2 separate regions of the Homo sapiens genome follow, and region 1 is linked to region 2. Evidence: promoter capture Hi-C in human tissues and cell types (Jung and others, 2019). All regions are on one chromosome and are shown on one strand. Each heading gives the region's core, a stretch centred on a gene start or on the middle of the fragment in contact. The rest is flanking DNA. Distances are from core to core; before and after follow the strand shown. Region 1 overlaps IQSEC1 (IQ motif and Sec7 domain ArfGEF 1). Region 2 holds the start of NUP210 (nucleoporin 210).

Region 1 (4,781 bases), core at 1,910-4,409, 380 kb before region 2:
ATTTGTGGGATCTAAAAATCAAAACAATTAAACTTATGGACATAGAGACTAGGACAGTTATCAGAATTGGGAAGGGTAGTCGGGGGACAGAGGGGGAGGTAGGTATGGTTAATGAATACAAAAAATAGAAGGAATGAGTAAGTGAATAAGACTTACTATTTGATAGCACAATAGGGTGACTATAGCCAATAATAACTGATTTGTACGTCTTAAAAATAATTGAAAGAGTATAATTGGATTATTTGTAACTCGAAGGATAAATGCTTGAGGGGATGGATACCCTCAATGTCGGGGGAAAGAATGTAGGGACACAGGACTCTCACCCACTGCTGGTAAGGCTACATACTGCCAGGGCCACTTTGGAAAGCAAGCTCACTAAGCCATGAATTCTCCATGAAGTGTGTATTTCACATTGCGTGCCTGTGTCAAAACATCTCACGTACCCCATAAATATATACACTTACTATGTACCTACAGCAATTTAAAAAAATGTGCATGGGAAATCTACACACCAAACAAGAGGGACTGTTTAGGCTTAGCTCTGGGGAAGCAGGAAAGGGATAAGATTTGTGGGGTGGCCCACAGGGGCAGTCCACCACACCATTAACAGCTTATTTTGGAAGCTGGGCGATGGGTATACTACTCTCCTCCATATTTTCTTCCCACCTGAACTATTTCATTAACCAAAGTACCCTGAGGTCGGCTGGGCTCTGGGAACTTGGGAGAGGGCTTGCCGCCTCCCACAATGGCCTTTGGGCCAGAGCTAAAGAGTCTATAGAGGCATCTCCCCACAACCAAGGCAGAACGCAGAGGCGCCCCGTGAAGATTTCTTTCCGTTTGCTAGTTGAAATAAGCGGCTCTGCTCCTTCCCCTGCCCGAGCCTCTGGCAGAGCTCCAGGATTATTTTACATTAACTTAAGATCACTAATGAAGAATAATTAACAGCTTTGAGGGAGCCTGGCACACCCTGTGTTTAGAAGTGGTTAATTATGCATTGTCTGCAAAACACCCCTTTCATACTCTTAAGTTTGGGATCGCCGTTTTAAACAACGGAATATGGCATCAGGCAAAAAGCCAAGTGGCTCCATTTGCAGAGCTTTCCTGGGGAAGGATCCGTTTGGGTGAGGACAGCCGCTTGCAAAGCCTCTACTAAGTGCTGTATATTCAGTGCTTTTCCAGCATTTACCCTTGAAATCCCCACACAAGGGCCATGAGAGGTGAGCTGAGCATCCCCCTTTCCCCATGTTACACAGCTGTGGAGGAAAAGTGACTTTTCTAAGCTCCCTGCCACAGCGAGGTCTGACCACAAAGTCTGAGTTCTTGCCCACCTGGCTGATGCATTATCATTATTTCTGGTCGACAACTGCTGGAAAGATGACTGCCCCCAGCCCTCAGCATGTCATTTGCCAGGGTGGACAGACCGAGCTGCTCAGCTGGCAGCATGCAGCCTCCACAGCTGGATCCCCTGGTTAAATCCCAGTGGCACCACCGACTGGCCATGAGCCCTTGGACAAGCTACTTCTCCCCGTGCTTTGGTTTCTTCACCTGGAAAATGGAAGAATCATGACTCCACTTCGTGGCATTAGCGCGCAGAGTTGGTGCTCAGAATGAAGCCTCACATGTAGCAGACACTCACTGAGCTTCCCTGCCCCACCTTCCTTTCTAGCTCTTCCCCTGACACACACCTAGGCTTCAGCCTCACCTCTGATCATTTATGCACCATGTGAGGCTTGGTCCCACACCATACGTTTGTTCGTGCTTTGTTTTCCACCCACAGTGCCCTTCCCTGTCTGGAAAATTCCAACTCCCATGTCTAGGCCCGGATCAGATGCCACCTCCTGCAGGAAGCCTTCCAATAAGACCTCCCTCAGGCTGCTGGTAATTTGTGCACCCTCTGTTTATACCCCATTCTTAACATTCATGAGTTGTTAATAGGTCTTTTCCCTTTGTAGGTTGGGAGTTCCTCAAGGATTAGTCTCATTTGTCTTTCAGGCACAGTCAGGGCTTAAGAACAAGAGCACAGGCTCTGAGTAAGAACCTCCATAGGTCAGGGGAGGGGACAAAGAGCGCTCTCACGGGTTCCTCCTAGAGCCTGAGCCACGCCTCTCACACTTGGACCACGTGGCCCCCAGAGTGTGACTCTCAGTTTGCCACTTGCCCACTAAGATCCTTCATGGGCTCCCCACTGAATGCAGGACAAGGCCCAGGCTCCGGTCCTGAGCCCCAGCCCCTGGTACCCCTTCCCAGCTCCATGGCCTTTTGCCATGACCCAAAGACACCCTTCCCTTTTAAAGCCTCTGGGTTTTTCCCATGTGGTTTCCCCTCTGTCTGGAACACCTGTGCTCCCCATCTCAACCCAGCAAACTCCTCCAGACACTTTACCACCTGGCTCAGCTGTCACCTCCTCCATGAAGCCCCCGCACCCAGCCCTGCTCCTCTTTCAAGACTCTGACCGCGACTCATGCCTGGCTAGCTGAGCCCTGTGGAGCAGGGTCTGTCCCTCATTTGTCCCTGCCTGGCCCAGGACTCCGGCGTCTGCATGGACTGAGACTGTAGACATTCAAGAGAGATTGCATCTCGAGACAGGAAAGACAGGGGTCAGATCTCGTGGCCACTCTTCTGCAGTTGCCTGCCCTCTGGTTTTATTCTGCTCACCTGCGCACAGGGGCTTTAATGCTTCTTTTGCAGGAGGGATGAGGATGAACAATTAAGTATATAAAGTGCCCCACCGCGGTAGACACCGAATCACTGACAGCCGGACATGCCCTCCTGAGGCCGCATGAACAAGCCTGGGGGCGGGGGGTGGGGTGAAAGGCTGCACCACAGCGCTCAGGGCCCACTGGGTGTCGGGCTCCTCTCTGATGTGGCTTGCACTAATCAGACGCAGGACAGGCCTCTCTCGCTGGCACCCTCCCAAGAGCAGGGACTTCCTTTCTACAGCTGCCGTGAGACCCTCCGTGCCCGCCCCCTTTGGAGAAAGCCCACTGGAAGGAAGAAGAAAAGCTCCCACACTTTCCCAGAATTGCTCGTATGCTAATGGCCGCAGACTTCACAGAGTGTGAAATCAGGAAAAACTAATTCCCTCAGAATAGACGGGACAATTCCCTCCTCCAGGTCTTTAATAACACGCCGTTCAAGGTGACCATGGCGACGGCTCCATGATGATCTCCTGCTGGCCCGGATGTGGTTCTTTCTTGACCAAGGTGTGCACTGGACAGAACACACACGCTCGGAAGAACCTGCCGGAGGTATGAACATTCGGGCTTGTGGTGCCTGCAGCCCCTGTCACCTCAGGGAGCAGTCCCCAAATCCATGTCATCAAATCCGAATCCCTACAGTTGGGAAACAGGCTTAAAGAGGGAAAGTGACTCGCCCAAGATCGCGCAGCCAGGAAAGGGACTGAACTTCGGGCTCCTGATCTCCTGACCAGGGGACCCCCAACTCTGCCTCCCCAAACTTGTGCTTAGGGAGGAGGCAGGCCAACCCTTGAGTCATCCAGCCCACGAGGTCGGAGCAAGTGTACCGGGAAAGAGCAGGCCGGGGACCCCGGGCCGGTGCAGCTTCCCTGCCTAGGGCTCACCCCGGCAGCAAGGAACAATGAAACACAGTGCCTGGCCACAGAGCAGTCCAGGGTGACTCTTTCTCTGCAGAAACTCTACCAGTTTCAGGCCAGAGGGAGAGGAAAGAATAGTTAAGCCCAGTTGCAAAGTGAACCACGACAAACGCTGCTGCTGGTCTTGGCCAGTGACGGGGACCCTCCGCCAAGAGGAGGAAGCCCTGCAATCGGGCAGGATCAGGGCGAACTTTCTCTCCAGGTCCCATTGCCCTAGTGGCCAAGGCTCTCCCCAGAGGGTCGACTTACCTTTTGTAGGCTCCATGCAGGGGCTGTAGGCACAGGAACTGCCAGTAATCCAGGCAAAAGGCCTTGAACTTGAGCATTTTCACCTTTTGGTCTCCAGCTGGACCACGGTAACGTCTCCGCGGAGACACGGAGAGGGGCTAGTGGGAGGTGGAGAACCGGCTGCTTCGGCCCGCCCTGGTCCCTGCCACGGCGGCCCCCACTCACATGGCCCAGCCCGCCCGGCGCAGCTTGTACAGTACACGCCTCCAATACAAAGAGCAGCCAGCACAAAAGCCTAGCAACTCATTCACGCAGCTCGCCTGGCCCGGCTCATGCTGCTGCTGTCTCTGTTAGCTGGTGCCTCCGAGGGCTTCCCTGGGGGTCCCTGGGACACACCAAGGCAGCTCTGGCTGTATCAAGTTGTGGGGGCCCCCAGTCCATCATCCTGGGGGGTCTGGATGCTAGGGCTCCTGACGGTGGCTCTGCAAGTCTGTTCTTCCAACCAGGCCCTGGGGCTCCGGGTGGTGGGGCCGGCACTGGCTGGACAGTCCTACACCCGCCTGGCTGGCCCAGAGTGGCTGAGGCCAGGAAGACCCAGGGAGAGCAGGTAGGGAGGGGGCCAGATGACAGGCAAACACTGGCCTCTTTTGCCAGATAAATTACGTTTGGCGGAATCCCTGTTCGGCCTGTGCGAGGGAAAACTCACCATGTAGCCACATGGTGCTTGGGGTGGGGGCAGCTGGGCTCTGAAAGGCAGGCGAAGGAAGACTGACAGGGTCGCCCAGCGCCTGCCGTTGCCTGGGCGACGGGGACACATTGATAAAATCTAAAATGGAACCGCTATGACAGCCGCTCATTGGCTGCCGGCAGGGGAATCCTGTCGCTAACCAGGGAGGGGAGCGGCTGAGCTGCAGGGCCACAGACAACCAGGCGCATTGTT
Region 2 (4,665 bases), core at 857-3,356:
CCTCCAGGTGCATAAAGCACTAAAACCAAAATGCAATGGGCTGACCTAGTACGTCTTGATTTCAGGAAGGAGACCTTCAAAAAAGAAATAGGGCAGGCCGGGTGCAGTGGCTCACGCCTGTAATCCCAGCACTTTGGGAGGCAGAGGCGGCGGGATCACTTGAGGTCAGGAGTTCGAGACCAGCCTGACCAACATAGTGAAACCCCATCTTTACTAAAAATACAAAAATTGGCCAGACAAGCCAGGCATGGTGGCTCACGCCTGTAATCTCAGCATTTTGGGAAGCTGAGGCAGGTGGATCGCTTGAGGAGTTCTCCTTGGTCTTGAGGAGTTCAAGACCAGCCTGGCCAACACAGTGAATCCAGAGTTTGAGACCAGCCTGGCCAACATAGTGAAACCCCGTCTCTACTAAAATGCAAAAAACTAGCTGGGTGTTGTGGCGGGCGCCTGTAATCCCAGCTACTCGGGAGGCTGAGGCAGGAGAATCGCTTGAACCGGGGAGGCGGAAGTTGCAGTGGACAGAGATCGCGCCATTGCACTCCAGCCTGGGCAACAAGGGCTGGAGTGCACTCTAAAAACAAACAAACAAACAAACAAAATTAGCCAGGTGGCCTGCACCTGTAATCCCAGCTACGAGGCGGGAGAATCGCTTGAACCCGGGAGGTGGAGGTTGCAGTGAGCCGAAATCGCACCACTGCACGTCAGCATGGACGACAAAGCAAAACTCCGTCTCAAAAAAAAAAAAAAAAAAAAAAAAAGAAAGAAAGAAATAGGGCAAATAGTGCAAGCAACAGAGAAAGCTGGCTGGTCTGAGCTTCGGGCATCACACTTACATACACGCACAGACTAATACTCAAACAGGCTTGACACACACATGTCCAGGCTTACACACATGGCTGTCACGTGGTCACACCCCGTTCTGCCTCAACCTTGACCCAGTCTTGAAACAGAAATAAAGGGAGCAACTACTGAGCATCCTGGGGGTGGGAAGGGCGGAAGCCCATCTTTTCACCCCTAGGACGGCTGGGCTGGGAAGCTAAGGGCGCTCAGTCGTGCCCACGCAGCCTTGCCAGGGGCAGGAGCTCCATTTCCCCTGGTCTGCAAAATGGAAGGGCTGGACTGCACCGCCCTGTCAGTGTCGGTCTCTGGTTTCATGGGTCCCTGTGGTTCCACAGGGTCACACTCCGCATCCGACCCCTTGGAGAACTCCCAACCCGAGAGGGAGGGTGATGGAAATGCCCTGAGCATCAGGACCCGCGCCGAGGCAGCCTGAGGGGAAGCGCCGGCCTGCCTCGTCTCACTTCGCCTCTGTAAAGCGGCCCCTGGGCTTCCCTCCAAAACTCCTTTCCTCCAGGGTCTCCGTTCCTCCCCGCGACGCTAGGCGCTGCGCTTCGTTTCACAGACTCACTTCCCACGCCAGGGCGAGGGCGGTCACAGACAAACCCGAGCTGGGGTCCCAGACTCAAGGGAAGTGCGGCCCAGCTGCCCCGGCGCCCCCTCCCGGGTCAGGCCGGCTCGGGCCCGGCCGGCTTGGGCCCTGCGGTCCCAGACGCCGCTCCCCAGGCCACCCCTCCTCCCGCACAACCCAGAACACGCGGGTCACGGCCGCCAGGCTGCGCCCGCTCTGCTCGCGCCTCAGCGGCGCGGAGGCCCGGACGGCGCCATGACATGAGCAGTGGTGGCGACCCACGCGCACCCGCCGCTCCGAGTGCTGCAGCCTAGCGCCCAGCGAGAGCGCGCCGCGCACCTGCCGGCTCTGCCGGCCTCCCGGCGCCCGCCCAGCCTCTCAGCGCGAAGGCCCAGCCCGGCCCACGGCGCCCGCCCGGCCCGGCCGCGCGCCTCACCAGCGGTAGCAGCCCTCCGAGGCCTCCAGCGTGAAGTTAACGCGCGTGGCCCGCGTGAAGGGCAGCAGCACTTTGGGGATGTTGAGCTTGGCCGCAGCGGCGGAGGGGCCCGCCGCCAACAGCACCGACAGCGTCAGCAGCAGCAGCCCCCGGCCCCGCGCCGCCATCCTCGCCGCGCGTCACCTCCCGCGACCCTGCGCCCGGCCGCCCGCGCCGCCCCGTTGCCCTCCGCTCCCGCCCGCGCGCGCGCCAGGCCAGCAGGTGATGAGCGCGGGGGCGGGGCGAGGGCCGTCGGCGGCCGCCGCTTCCTGGGCCTGAGCGCGGGAACTCTGGGGGCCGAGCTCGCGGCGACCCCACCCCCAGCCCGGCCCTCGCGCAGGGACGCGGGGCTGGGGGATGGGCGCGCGCCCGGGCCCCCGGAGCTGAGGGAGAAGGCTTGGGGCGCGCCCGCGGGGACCCCTGGACCCTAGAAGTCCCAAGGGGGAGCCCCCGGGGCGCCCCGCAGCACGCATCCCGCCCTGGTATTTGCCCCTGGCGGTGGAGCCAAGCCGCCGGCTTTGGACCTTGCGCTCTGGCCCGGACCCACGGTCAGCAAGGAAGGGACACATGCCCCAGGACATTTGGGATGCAGAAAACCGGCGCCTGCCTTGTCCCAGCCCATGCTTCCCAGAAGAGGGACCCCGGGCTCGCAAAGGGAAGCCACCTGCTGAAGCGCTGAAGGCCCGGGGCCCGCTCCCCCTCGACCCCCTCACACCCTTTCCAGAGAGGCCTTAAGATTCCCATTTCTCCAGGAAAAAACCGGTTGAATGGCCCCCAGATCACTCAGCCAGAGAGCCCCAAGCTCTTGTCCTCCGCACTGCACCCCCTGCGGAAGCCATTAGAGGTTACCTATAGGTCATTTAGGGCGCCAACGCTGCCAGAGCACAACCCCCTCCACGGCCCCCACACCCACAAAAGAAAGTTTAGCACCGCGGAATCCACCTGCACACCAATGGAAGGCCTTAGATTCCGCGCTGTGCTCTGTGGCTTTTAGCTGTCTGTCGTGAATTGCATGAAGGCATGCGTCAGCAGGCACCTGACTGCTTGGTGCCGCTAAAATATGAATCTAGCCTTGCAGAGAAGGCCCAGCCTAGCGGGAGGTCAGGAAAGGGTGGGGTGAGGGTGCACTGGCCGGCTGTCTGAGGAGTGCAGGAAGTGGATGCTGACTGTAACCAGGAAGACACACAACGATGCCACTGGGTGACCAGGAAGGAGAGGATAAATGTCAGTAAGGCTAGGAAGGCTTTTTGGAGGCGGCGGCCCCTGGGTTGGGCATAGACACCGCACTGGGCTTCAGCGAGGCCCGCATAGGCTGAGCCTGCCCCTCAGGGATCATGGGGCTTTTGGATGGTGATGCGGGGTGTTTGGGGTCACCCTCGAAGCCTGAGGGCCCTAGACCAGGGAATGTGTGTGTTGGGGGAAATCTCTGGAGATAACCAGAACTAAGGGGGTGAGGGTCGGCCCTGTGTGGAACCAGGTGCTCTGGGAGGGGAATTCCAACGGGCTCCCTTTGAAGAAACAAAAAACAGACTTGCGCGGAAAAGGCAGCCTCAGAGGGTATTTGTGAGGAAGTCTGTGGGTGTCTTCTGGGTTGCACAAGATTGATTTGTTTTCCAACAGGTAATCCAGACAGATGGTTGAAACTTAGGCTCAAAAGGGTTCCAAGTGAAAGTGATTCCTCTCCCTCCCCATCACCCAATACCCTTCCCTACAGGCAATGAGTGTTTCCCACTTGAGTATACATCCAGAGAAATTTTATGCATAAACAAGCATATATATATATAAAACATGGCACACATGCACACACATACACATACATGCACACACATATGTATATATGAAATATGGCACATATACATACATATACATATGTCTTGCGAGGCAGGTAAATCTCACTCTTGGACATATATCCTAGAGAAATGAAAAGTGATGTTCCCACAATCACCTGTACATAAAACATTCATAGCAGCTTTATCAAATAGGCCCAAACTGGAAACAGCACAGAGGTCCTTCATGGGTGATGATTAAATACTGTGGCACATCTATGCCATGGAATATTATTCAGCAAAAAAAGAAATGAACTGCTAATACATCCATCTTGGATGAAGCTCCAGGGAATTATACGGACTGGAAAACAAACACTACAAAAGCACAAAAGGTTACATACTGTAAACTTGCTTTTATACAAGATTATTGAGTTGGCAAAATTATAGAAGTATAGAGCAGGTGAGTGATTGTGGGGTCAGGGGCGGCGTGGCATAGGAAGTGATGTGGCTATAAAAGGTCAACATGAGGAGTCCCTGGGATGGAAGTGCTTGGTGGCTTGACTGTATCAATGTCCATTTCCTGGTTGTGATATTATCCCATAGTTTTGCAAGATGTCTACTAGTGGAAACGGGGTAAAGGGCACATATTATAGCATCTCTCTTGTTATTTGTTACAACTGCATGTAATCTACAATTATCTCAAAAAAAGAATCATACAAACAGGCCCAGCAAAACACATCTGAGTGGACACAGCTTGCTAAACAACTACGTTTCAGGTGATTTAAGGCAATCAGGAAATTTTCCCAGCAGAAAACAATCCATGGAAGACAACAAAATGGGCCGGGTGCGGTGGCTGTCACCTGTAATCCCAGCACTTTGGGAGGCCAAGGTGGGCAGATCACCTGAGGTCAGGAGTTTGAGACCAGCCTGGCCAACATGGCAAAACCCTATCTCTACTAAAAATACAAAAAGTCGCCAGACATGGTGGCATGCATCTGTAATCCCAGCTACTGGGG

The links. The method cuts DNA at HindIII sites, captures the fragments that hold promoters and counts their contacts. A contact is called where the count stands out against the background at its distance.
Region 1: a contact is called between a fragment that was not itself captured here and the fragment with the promoter of NUP210 in region 2, in 1 of the 25 tissues and cell types used here (spleen).

The regions. Positions count from the first base shown.
Region 1 is chr3:13,038,425-13,043,205 of GRCh38, forward strand. All of the region lies in intron 1 of IQSEC1 (IQ motif and Sec7 domain ArfGEF 1), which reads right to left. Among named protein-coding and RNA genes, the nearest start is that of IQSEC1, 33 kb to the right of the region's middle. RefSeq lists enhancers at 2,309-2,398, 2,419-2,478, 3,319-3,914. The HindIII fragment of the contact is 6,139 bases long and covers 91-4,781 here.
Region 2 is chr3:13,418,216-13,422,880 of GRCh38, forward strand. It overlaps NUP210 (nucleoporin 210), which reads right to left and starts at 2,107. Exons shown (of 40, transcript NM_024923.4): 1 at 1,845-2,107. The coding sequence starts at 2,011. RefSeq lists silencers at 1,322-1,891, 1,942-2,341. The HindIII fragment of the contact is 28,440 bases long and covers 1-4,665 here.